Regions from separate parts of the Homo sapiens genome. Here region 2 is linked to region 1. Evidence: promoter capture Hi-C in 16 types of primary human blood cells and fetal thymus (Javierre and others, 2016). All regions are on one chromosome and are shown on one strand. The core of a region is centred on a gene start or on the middle of the fragment in contact, and the rest is flanking DNA. Distances in the headings are between cores, read along the strand shown. Region 1 holds the start of SLC39A6 (solute carrier family 39 member 6). Region 2 has its middle 7.8 kb from the start of FHOD3.

Region 1 (3,951 bases), core at 1,452-3,951:
GTGATGCTCGTGCTCTGAGTGATGCTCATGGTCTGAGTGACGCTCATGGTCTGAGTGATGCTCGTGGTCTGAGTGATGGTCGTGGTCATGGTGTATATGGATTCTTTTAATCTTATCTATGCCTATATTTTGAAGTAATTTTCTGAACCCTTCAACTGACAAAGAATTATTTTCTCCATAGCGGTAGAAAAGCTGTTGTAGATGATATTGCCGTGTGGAAATTGCCAAGTCAACATTAATGCCAGATTCCCAATTCGGACTAATTTTCTCAGTGGTCTGGGGGAAAGCAGCTGCTTTTAGTTCATGAAGGGGATTTGTGACAGAGAGGGCAAAGGTCAGGATCAAGATTACAGATAACTTCCTCGCCATTGCGCCTTCCTAGAAAAGACAGGAAAAAAAAATTCTTGACTCACTTCTAAAACAAATTGAATTAAGAAACCTCATACTGAAAATTAATGTGTAATCAAATAATCAAAGTTGCCAGAGCATCATGTGGTGTGACCAGTGTGACGCTAGGTACTGTGAAGATGGAAAGAACTAGAGTCCTAGGCTCTACCCTTGCATTCCTAAAACACATGAAACAACTGGAGAAGAGCTGAGTGCTAAGAGACTGCCATTAGCACTGTAAAAGCAATAGTAATTCAGAGACAAGGGAGATCCATGTGGCCACAGCCATCAACTGCTTACTGAAGTTGAGAATTTATTTGAACGATTATTTGAATCATTGAGGCCAATGATTCATAATTAAATCTAGGCTGGGTGTGGTGGCTCATGCCTATAATCCCAGCACTTTGGGAGGCTGAGGCAGGCAGATCACCTGAGGCCAGGAGTTTGTGACCAGCCTGGGCAACATTGTGAAACCCTGTCTCAAAAAAAAAAAAGAACGAAATGAAATCTAGCTACCTTGATCATCACCATCATTTCATAAAATAACCTTCAAACACCAAAAAATAGAAATAATAATCTCAGAATTCACATATTTAAAAAATTTTAAACTAATACACTCTCCTTACATACAAGCCCATTTAAGACCCCTTTCCCCAATCACAATCCTCAAAGGTGCTCAATTTTGCCAGTGTATCCCTCAGGATATTTTCTATGCATACTCAAATACATGTATACTTAATTTTTTTTTTAAAGTTTTTTTTTTTTTTTTCTAGAGACGAGGTCTCACTATGTTGTCCGGGTTGGTCTTGAACTCCTGGCCTCAAGAGATCCTCCACCTCCAATTCCCAAAGTGCTGGGATTACAGGCGTGACCACTACGCCCAGCCTCAAATAAGTGTATACTTTAAATACACATTGAATCTTTTTTCCGACTTGACAATGAATCAGACACATTATGTCCATACATAGAATTCTTAAAGTAAACTGAACTTCATGAAAAACTCACTGTAGCATCCTTGTGTTACTACAAACCAGTCAACATTTAATCACAGGCTGTTAATCATCCACAGTAGTGTTTGGAACCAAAGGCCTGTGCCCCAAAGAGGAGGAAGCAATTGAGTTGGAGCTTGAAAAGCAGAATTCAGTTAAGCAGAGCCAGAATTCAGTTAATTCAGATCCAGCAGGATGTCCAGCACCAACGGTGGAGGTGATGGTGGTCAAACTCACATCTCCAGCAAAAGACGCAGACGTCAAGTTTACAACTAAGCAAGAGCATGGGGCTATCCAGCTCTACCACGGTCAGCTGTTCTTTGGACAGGGCTCTCGCATTCATTACCTTATCTAAAATACCGGTAAAACCTATTTTGCAAGGCGAAGGAGGAAAACACATGAAGGAATGTATATTACAAGTACTCGTTAAACTCATGTGTTGCACAAGTGCGAGGTATCATACAGGGAACAGTGGGAAATGGAGGTACGGCGTAGAACGAGGCTCCTGAAAGAGGAATCTTTGGGGCTTGAAGTTTCGGGAATTCTTTTACTAGGTAAAAGATAAACATTTAGAAATCATTCCCAGGAGAGAGGCGAGGAGCGGGGTGGGAGGGGACTAGCACAGGGGACAGCTCCGAGCCTTTCTCCAGGGAGGATGCTGAGCGCGGTCGTGGACCCGTTGAAGGATCTCCTTTCCTGCAAGTTGGTGTGTGCTGGAGGAAAAAGGAAAGCAGAAGGGAAGGGCCTTAGAGAAAAAGGCGAGTACAGAAAACGGAAAAGAGGGCACAAAGCTCTCTTCTAAAAGCTTTTTATTTCTAAACACGTCAGTCCCTTCTTCGAATATGGGATGAAAAGTACGGATCTTTTCCTCAAAAAATCCTCCGTTGCACCCCGAAGCCCATCTGAGCACCTTAAGAAGTCCGGCTCTCTAGGGTGAGTGGGCGCCTGCGGCGGGCTCCCCCCAGCATCCTCTTTCTGTAGCCCCCCTGCCCGGTCCGCAGGATCCGGTTCTCCGCAGAACCACCCCTACCCCGCCACGCCTGTCTGGCCTGAGGAGCTCCCCTCCCAGCCGCCCTGCTCCCGGACCTGAAAGACTCACGTCTCCGCGGCCTCGTTGTCCCACGGCCCGGCCACGCGCGCAGGTTTGGTTCCACACGGGCGGTCCAGAGGGCTCGGAACGGGCCCACTGGTGTCTTCGAGAAATCTCTACCAGGCGCGAACACGCGGTGGTTTCATTGGGTTGGCTGCCCCTCGGTCCGGGGGCAGCGCCGCGCAGCCACCCGGCAGCCGCGCCCCTAGCCTTCGCGAAGCTGGAAGACAATCACTAATTACCGCCGCGCGCAGCGCCGCGGGGAACCACCGCCCCCTTCGCCCAGGACTGCAGGGCATGCGCAGTGCGACCCCGGAACCCGGCTCCGCAGACGGATCCGCTTTTCCGTGTGTTCGCCGACGCCGCGGGGGCGTGGCGCGGCCCTAGCGCATTGTAAGCAGTTGGGGGTCATTTCCTCGAGGCCCTACTCGCTAGCCAGCGCCCCCGGGGCCAGCCCTGGCTGCTGCTGGGAGCCGGGTCGTAAGGGGCAGCGAGATGTTTCTGACGCTGCCCCAGGCACATGAGCCCCGGGTCCTTCGGGAGGGTCCCGAGCCACTCGGGTCGGATTTCGCTCTTGAGACAAAGGCCTGGCTCGTTCGCGGAGCGGGGCCACGGTCCAAGAGCAGAGCTAGCAAAGCGGCGGCCTTGCACAGGGGTTCCAGCCTGCGGTGGGAACGGAGAGTCTCAGGGGGGCGGGGCTGCCTCCGTCTGGCCCTCGGCTGGCTGCGAAACGTGGACTGGGTGATGCCTCAGGAGAAACCACCCTAGTAGTTCCGCTCCGAGGGCGGAAGTGCGCGTCTCTTGTTTGTGCGGCTGACCAGTTGGCGACATGGTGGCACCCGTGCTGGAGACTTCTCACGTGTTTTGCTGCCCAAACCGGGTGCGGGGAGTCCTGAACTGGAGCTCTGGGCCCAGAGGACTTCTGGCCTTTGGCACGTCCTGCTCCGTGGTGCTCTATGACCCCCTGGTAAGAGAGGTCGCTGGACGGCCGACCCTTGTGCTTTTCGGGTTGAACCTGTGGACGTGCTCCGGGCGCGCTGTTAGTTGCCGCCCCAGACCTAGGAGGCGAGTCGGGTCGGCTCAGGGGAGCGGGGTTTGGGCTCGGAGTCTCCAGTGGACCTGCCGGACTCGCTCCTCACCCCTCACCCTTTGCCGTCTCACGCGTGGCGTCATCCTAGGGTCATTGCTGCCCATGAGCTGCTAGTAACCTGTTAGTCCCACGCAGAAACCCGAATGATAAGCATCTTACCTGAAGCCTTCCTTGGGAACTGTAGTACCGTTAATCAATTTGGGTTTTAAAACAATTGAAATTTATATGTAGATTAAAACCATCATCCCACAGGTGCAATCTCATTTCAGTATTTCCTTCAGTTTTGGTTAATGAACTTTTGTTGTATTGAATTTCAAGGAAATGTTACCTGTGTTTTAGCTACGGGAATGGACATTTTAGAGAAAGTGTCAGTTTGGGGGAAAGGTCATAGGGGA
Region 2 (3,680 bases), core at 223-2,722, 160 kb after region 1:
AAGCCATTTGTCCACTGGTTTGGTCTGCAGTGGAGTCCATCAGGCAAAGTGCCTCTATTATACCCTAGAGCTTCCAATCAGCTTTCTTTCTTTCTTTTCTTTTTTCTTTTTCTTTTTTTTTTTTTTTTTTGAGGCAGAGTCTCGCTCTGTTGCCCAGGCTGGAGTGCAGTGGTGCAATCCTGGCTCACTGCAACCTCTGCCTCCCAGGTTCAAGCGATTTTCCTGCCCCAGCTTCCCAAGTAGCTGGGATTACAGGCGCCTGCCACCACACCCAGCTATTTTTCGTAGTTTTAGTAGAGACAGGGTTTCACCACATTGGTCAGGCTGGCCTCAAACTCCTGACCTCAAGTGATCCGCCTGCCTCGGCATCCCAAAGTGCTGGGATTACAGAAGTGGGCCACATTGCCCAGCCTCCCAGTTGGCTTTCAATGTGATGAACAGCCAAGGATCATGCCATTTGAGGAAAGTGTCTACTATAAAAGAAAAAAACTGAAAGAAAAAGAAGAAAGGAAGAACCCAAAGTGTACAGAAACAGTGCAGCAAAAAGAAGAAAACTTTAAAGAAAATGTGGTTAATAATATCAGGGAAATCCTGGAAATAAGAACAAGATATTTTAAAAAGAAAAATCACAGAACAAGACAGAATTCTTGAAAAGTAAAAACATGAATGCTGCAATACAACATTCAGTAGAAGAAAAGGAAATACAGTTTAGGAAATTTCCCAAAAAGTAGAAGAAAATAATCAGAGAGATGAACAGGGCAGAAAAGTTAAGAAAATTAGAGAACCTGCTTAGTGATCCAACATCTGAATAATAGGAGTTCTAGGAAGAGCAAGCAGAGAACACTGTGGAGAGGAAATGATCAAAAACAGGATATAAGAACATTTCTGCATCAAAGAGCAGGATCTCTGGATTAAGTAATATCCACAAAATGACAACAGGATGAATGAAAAAGAATCCCCACCAGGGCACCTCATCATGGAATTTCAGTATATTGGGAATAATGAGAAGGTTCAAAAAGCTTCCAAAGAGAGAGGGGAAAAAAGTTACCTATACAATGTAGAGTTACCTATACAGTTGCCCCTTGATATTCATGGTTGTTTGGTTCCAGGACCTCCCTTGGATACCAAAATCCGTGGGTGCTCAAGTCCTTCACATAAAATGGTGTAGTATTTAACATAACCTATGCATATCCTCCTGTATACTTTAAATCATCTGTAGATTACTTATAATATCTAATATCATGTAAATGTTATGTAAATAGCTGTTGTGTTGTTTAGGAAATAATGACAAATAAAAAAAGTCTGTACATGTTTAGTATAGATGCAAGCATTCATTCTTTTTTTGAATATTTCCAATCTGTGTAGGTTGACTCCATGGATGCAGAGCCCACAGACACAGAGGGCCAGCTATACCACAGCACAAATAGTCTAAAGCAACAAGAAAAATTAGAAGACAATGAAGCAATGCCTCAAAATTCTGAGTAAAAATCATTTTAACCTAGAATTGTATAACATATGTGTTATATTGTTTCAGAGATGACTACAACATTTCTTCATATCTGGGTACGTGTACCTCTTTGCAATGTGATTTCACTTCTCCCATCAGGGAGTGGAATCTATTTCCCCACTTCTTGAATCTAAGCTGATCTTAACTTATTTCAACCAAAAAAAAAAAAAGAGTAGCAAAACTGATACAGCATAATTTCTAAGCCCAGGTCTCAAGAGATCTTGCAGCTTCCACTGTTGACCTCTTAGAATGCTATCCTAAGTCTACCAGTGTAAAGAAGCCAGGTCTAGCCTATTAGATGAGAAACCCAAGGAGAGATGAACCATTCTAACTGAAGCCCCCATCTGGACCAGCCAGCTGACAGCCAGCGTACATTACCAGGCATGGAAGGAGGCTATTTTAGTCCCACCAGTCCCAGTCAAGCTTCTAGATGACTGCAACTACATGAACGATCTCAGGTGAGACCAGATCAAATTGCTGATCCACAGAATCAAAAGAAAATAAAATGGTTGTTATTTTAAGCTACTACATTTTGGAGTGGTTTCTTATACAACAAAGACTAAATAAAACAGGAATTGGTACCTAGAAGTAGAGTGCTACCATAACAAACCCCTAAATTGTGTGACAGTGGTTTTAGGACTGGGCAGGGGGCAGAGGCTGGGAAAGTGGTGAGGAAACCATTATTTGAATCTGCATGCAGATGAGGACTTTCTCCTCGGGTACAACTGCTCTGATGCAGAGACCTGTTACCGTAAAAGACAAAGTGTATAGCCCTTTCACACTCAATATGCAATGGTGAAATTGGGACAGAATAACTTCAAGAGGCACTCACATTTAAAAATAGACAGACTGGGGCCAGGTGTGGTGGCTTACACCTGTGATTCTAGCACTTTGGGAGGCTGAGGTGGGTGGGTTGTTTGAGCCCGGGAGTTAGAGACCAGCCTGGCCAACTGGTGAAACCCCGCCTCTACTAAAAACACAAAAATTAGATAGGTGAAGTGGTGTGCACTTGTAATCCCAACTACTTGGGAGGCTGAGGCACGAGAATCTCCAGGAGGTGAAGGTTGCTGTGAGCCAAGATCACGCCACTGCACTCCAGCCTGGGTGACAGAGTGAGACCCATCTCAATAATAATAATAATAAAATAAAAAATAGACAGATTGGAAGACACACAGCAGTCATTGATTCATAGCAATGCTGAACTCCAGCCAGACACATGTTGCCAGTTTCTCTTACTCCAGGAGACTACGGCCCAGTTCTGCTTCCTGGGATGGTTTCCAAGTTTTTTGTTCCCCACGATCCTTAGTTCCCATGCTCTGATAGAACCTTCCTTTTCCAAAGGTAATGGCTGCCGTGTTTGCAGCAGAGAAACTTTCTTACTTTAGTTTTTTTTTTTTAATTAATTTTAGTTTTTTTTTTTTTTTTTTTGAGACGGAGTCTCGTTCTGTTGCCCAGGCTGGAGTGCAGTGGCATGATCTCGGCTGACTGCAAGCTCCACCTCCTGGGTTCACGCCATTCTCCTGCCTCAGCCTCCCTAGTAGCTGGGACTACAGGCGTCTGCCACCACGCCCGGCTAATTTTTTGTATTTTTAGTAGAGACGGGGTTTCACCGTGTTAGCCAGGATGGTCTTGATCTCCTGACCTGGAGATCCACCTGCCTCAGCCTCCCAAAGTGCTGGGATTACAGGTGTAAGCCACCACGCCTGGTCTTTAGTTTTATTTTATTATTAATTCAGGTACAGTTTTGTTATGTGGGTATATTGCATAATGTTGAGGTTTGGGATTCTAGTGAAACCATCACCCAAACAGTGAATACAGTATTGAGATGGTATTCAGTAAACAAAATAGGTAGCTTTTCAACCTTTGCCTCCTTCCTCTTCCCCTTTTAGAGTCCCTAGTGCCTATTATTTCCATCTTTATGTCCATGAGTGCCCACTGTTTAGCTCTCACAAGTGAGAATATGTGGTATCTGATTTTCTTTTTCTGGGTTATTTCACTTAGGATAATGGCCTCTAGCTCAATCCAAGTTGCTGCAAAGGACATGATTTCATTCTTCTTTATGTTTGTCTGCTTCTTATCCATTTCAGGTTGGAGTTCCATAAGTTTCTTTTTATTTTGAACAATCTCAGTCCCTTTTAGCCTAAGCTGACAGTGCTTTCATAAATACAACTAT

Evidence for each region. The method cuts DNA at HindIII sites, captures the fragments that hold promoters and counts their contacts. A CHiCAGO score of 5 or more calls a contact.
Region 2: a contact is called between a fragment that was not itself captured here and the fragment with the promoter of SLC39A6 in region 1, in 1 of 17 cell types (endothelial precursors). The highest score is 6.8, in endothelial precursors.

The regions. Positions count from the first base shown.
Region 1 is chr18:36,126,639-36,130,589 of GRCh38, forward strand. It overlaps SLC39A6 (solute carrier family 39 member 6), which reads right to left and starts at 2,702. Exons shown (of 10, transcript NM_012319.4): 1 at 2,476-2,702; 2 at 1-378. The coding sequence starts at 369. It overlaps ELP2 (elongator acetyltransferase complex subunit 2), which reads left to right and starts at 3,261. Exons shown (of 22, transcript NM_018255.4): 1 at 3,261-3,433. The coding sequence starts at 3,296. RefSeq lists enhancers at 2,500-3,005, 2,628-2,922, 2,953-3,142, 3,006-3,511, 3,303-3,512. The HindIII fragment of the contact is 4,684 bases long and covers 2,180-3,951 here.
Region 2 is chr18:36,288,082-36,291,761 of GRCh38, forward strand. No RefSeq gene overlaps it. Among named protein-coding and RNA genes, the nearest start is that of FHOD3, 7.8 kb to the right of the region's middle. The HindIII fragment of the contact is 911 bases long and covers 1,018-1,928 here.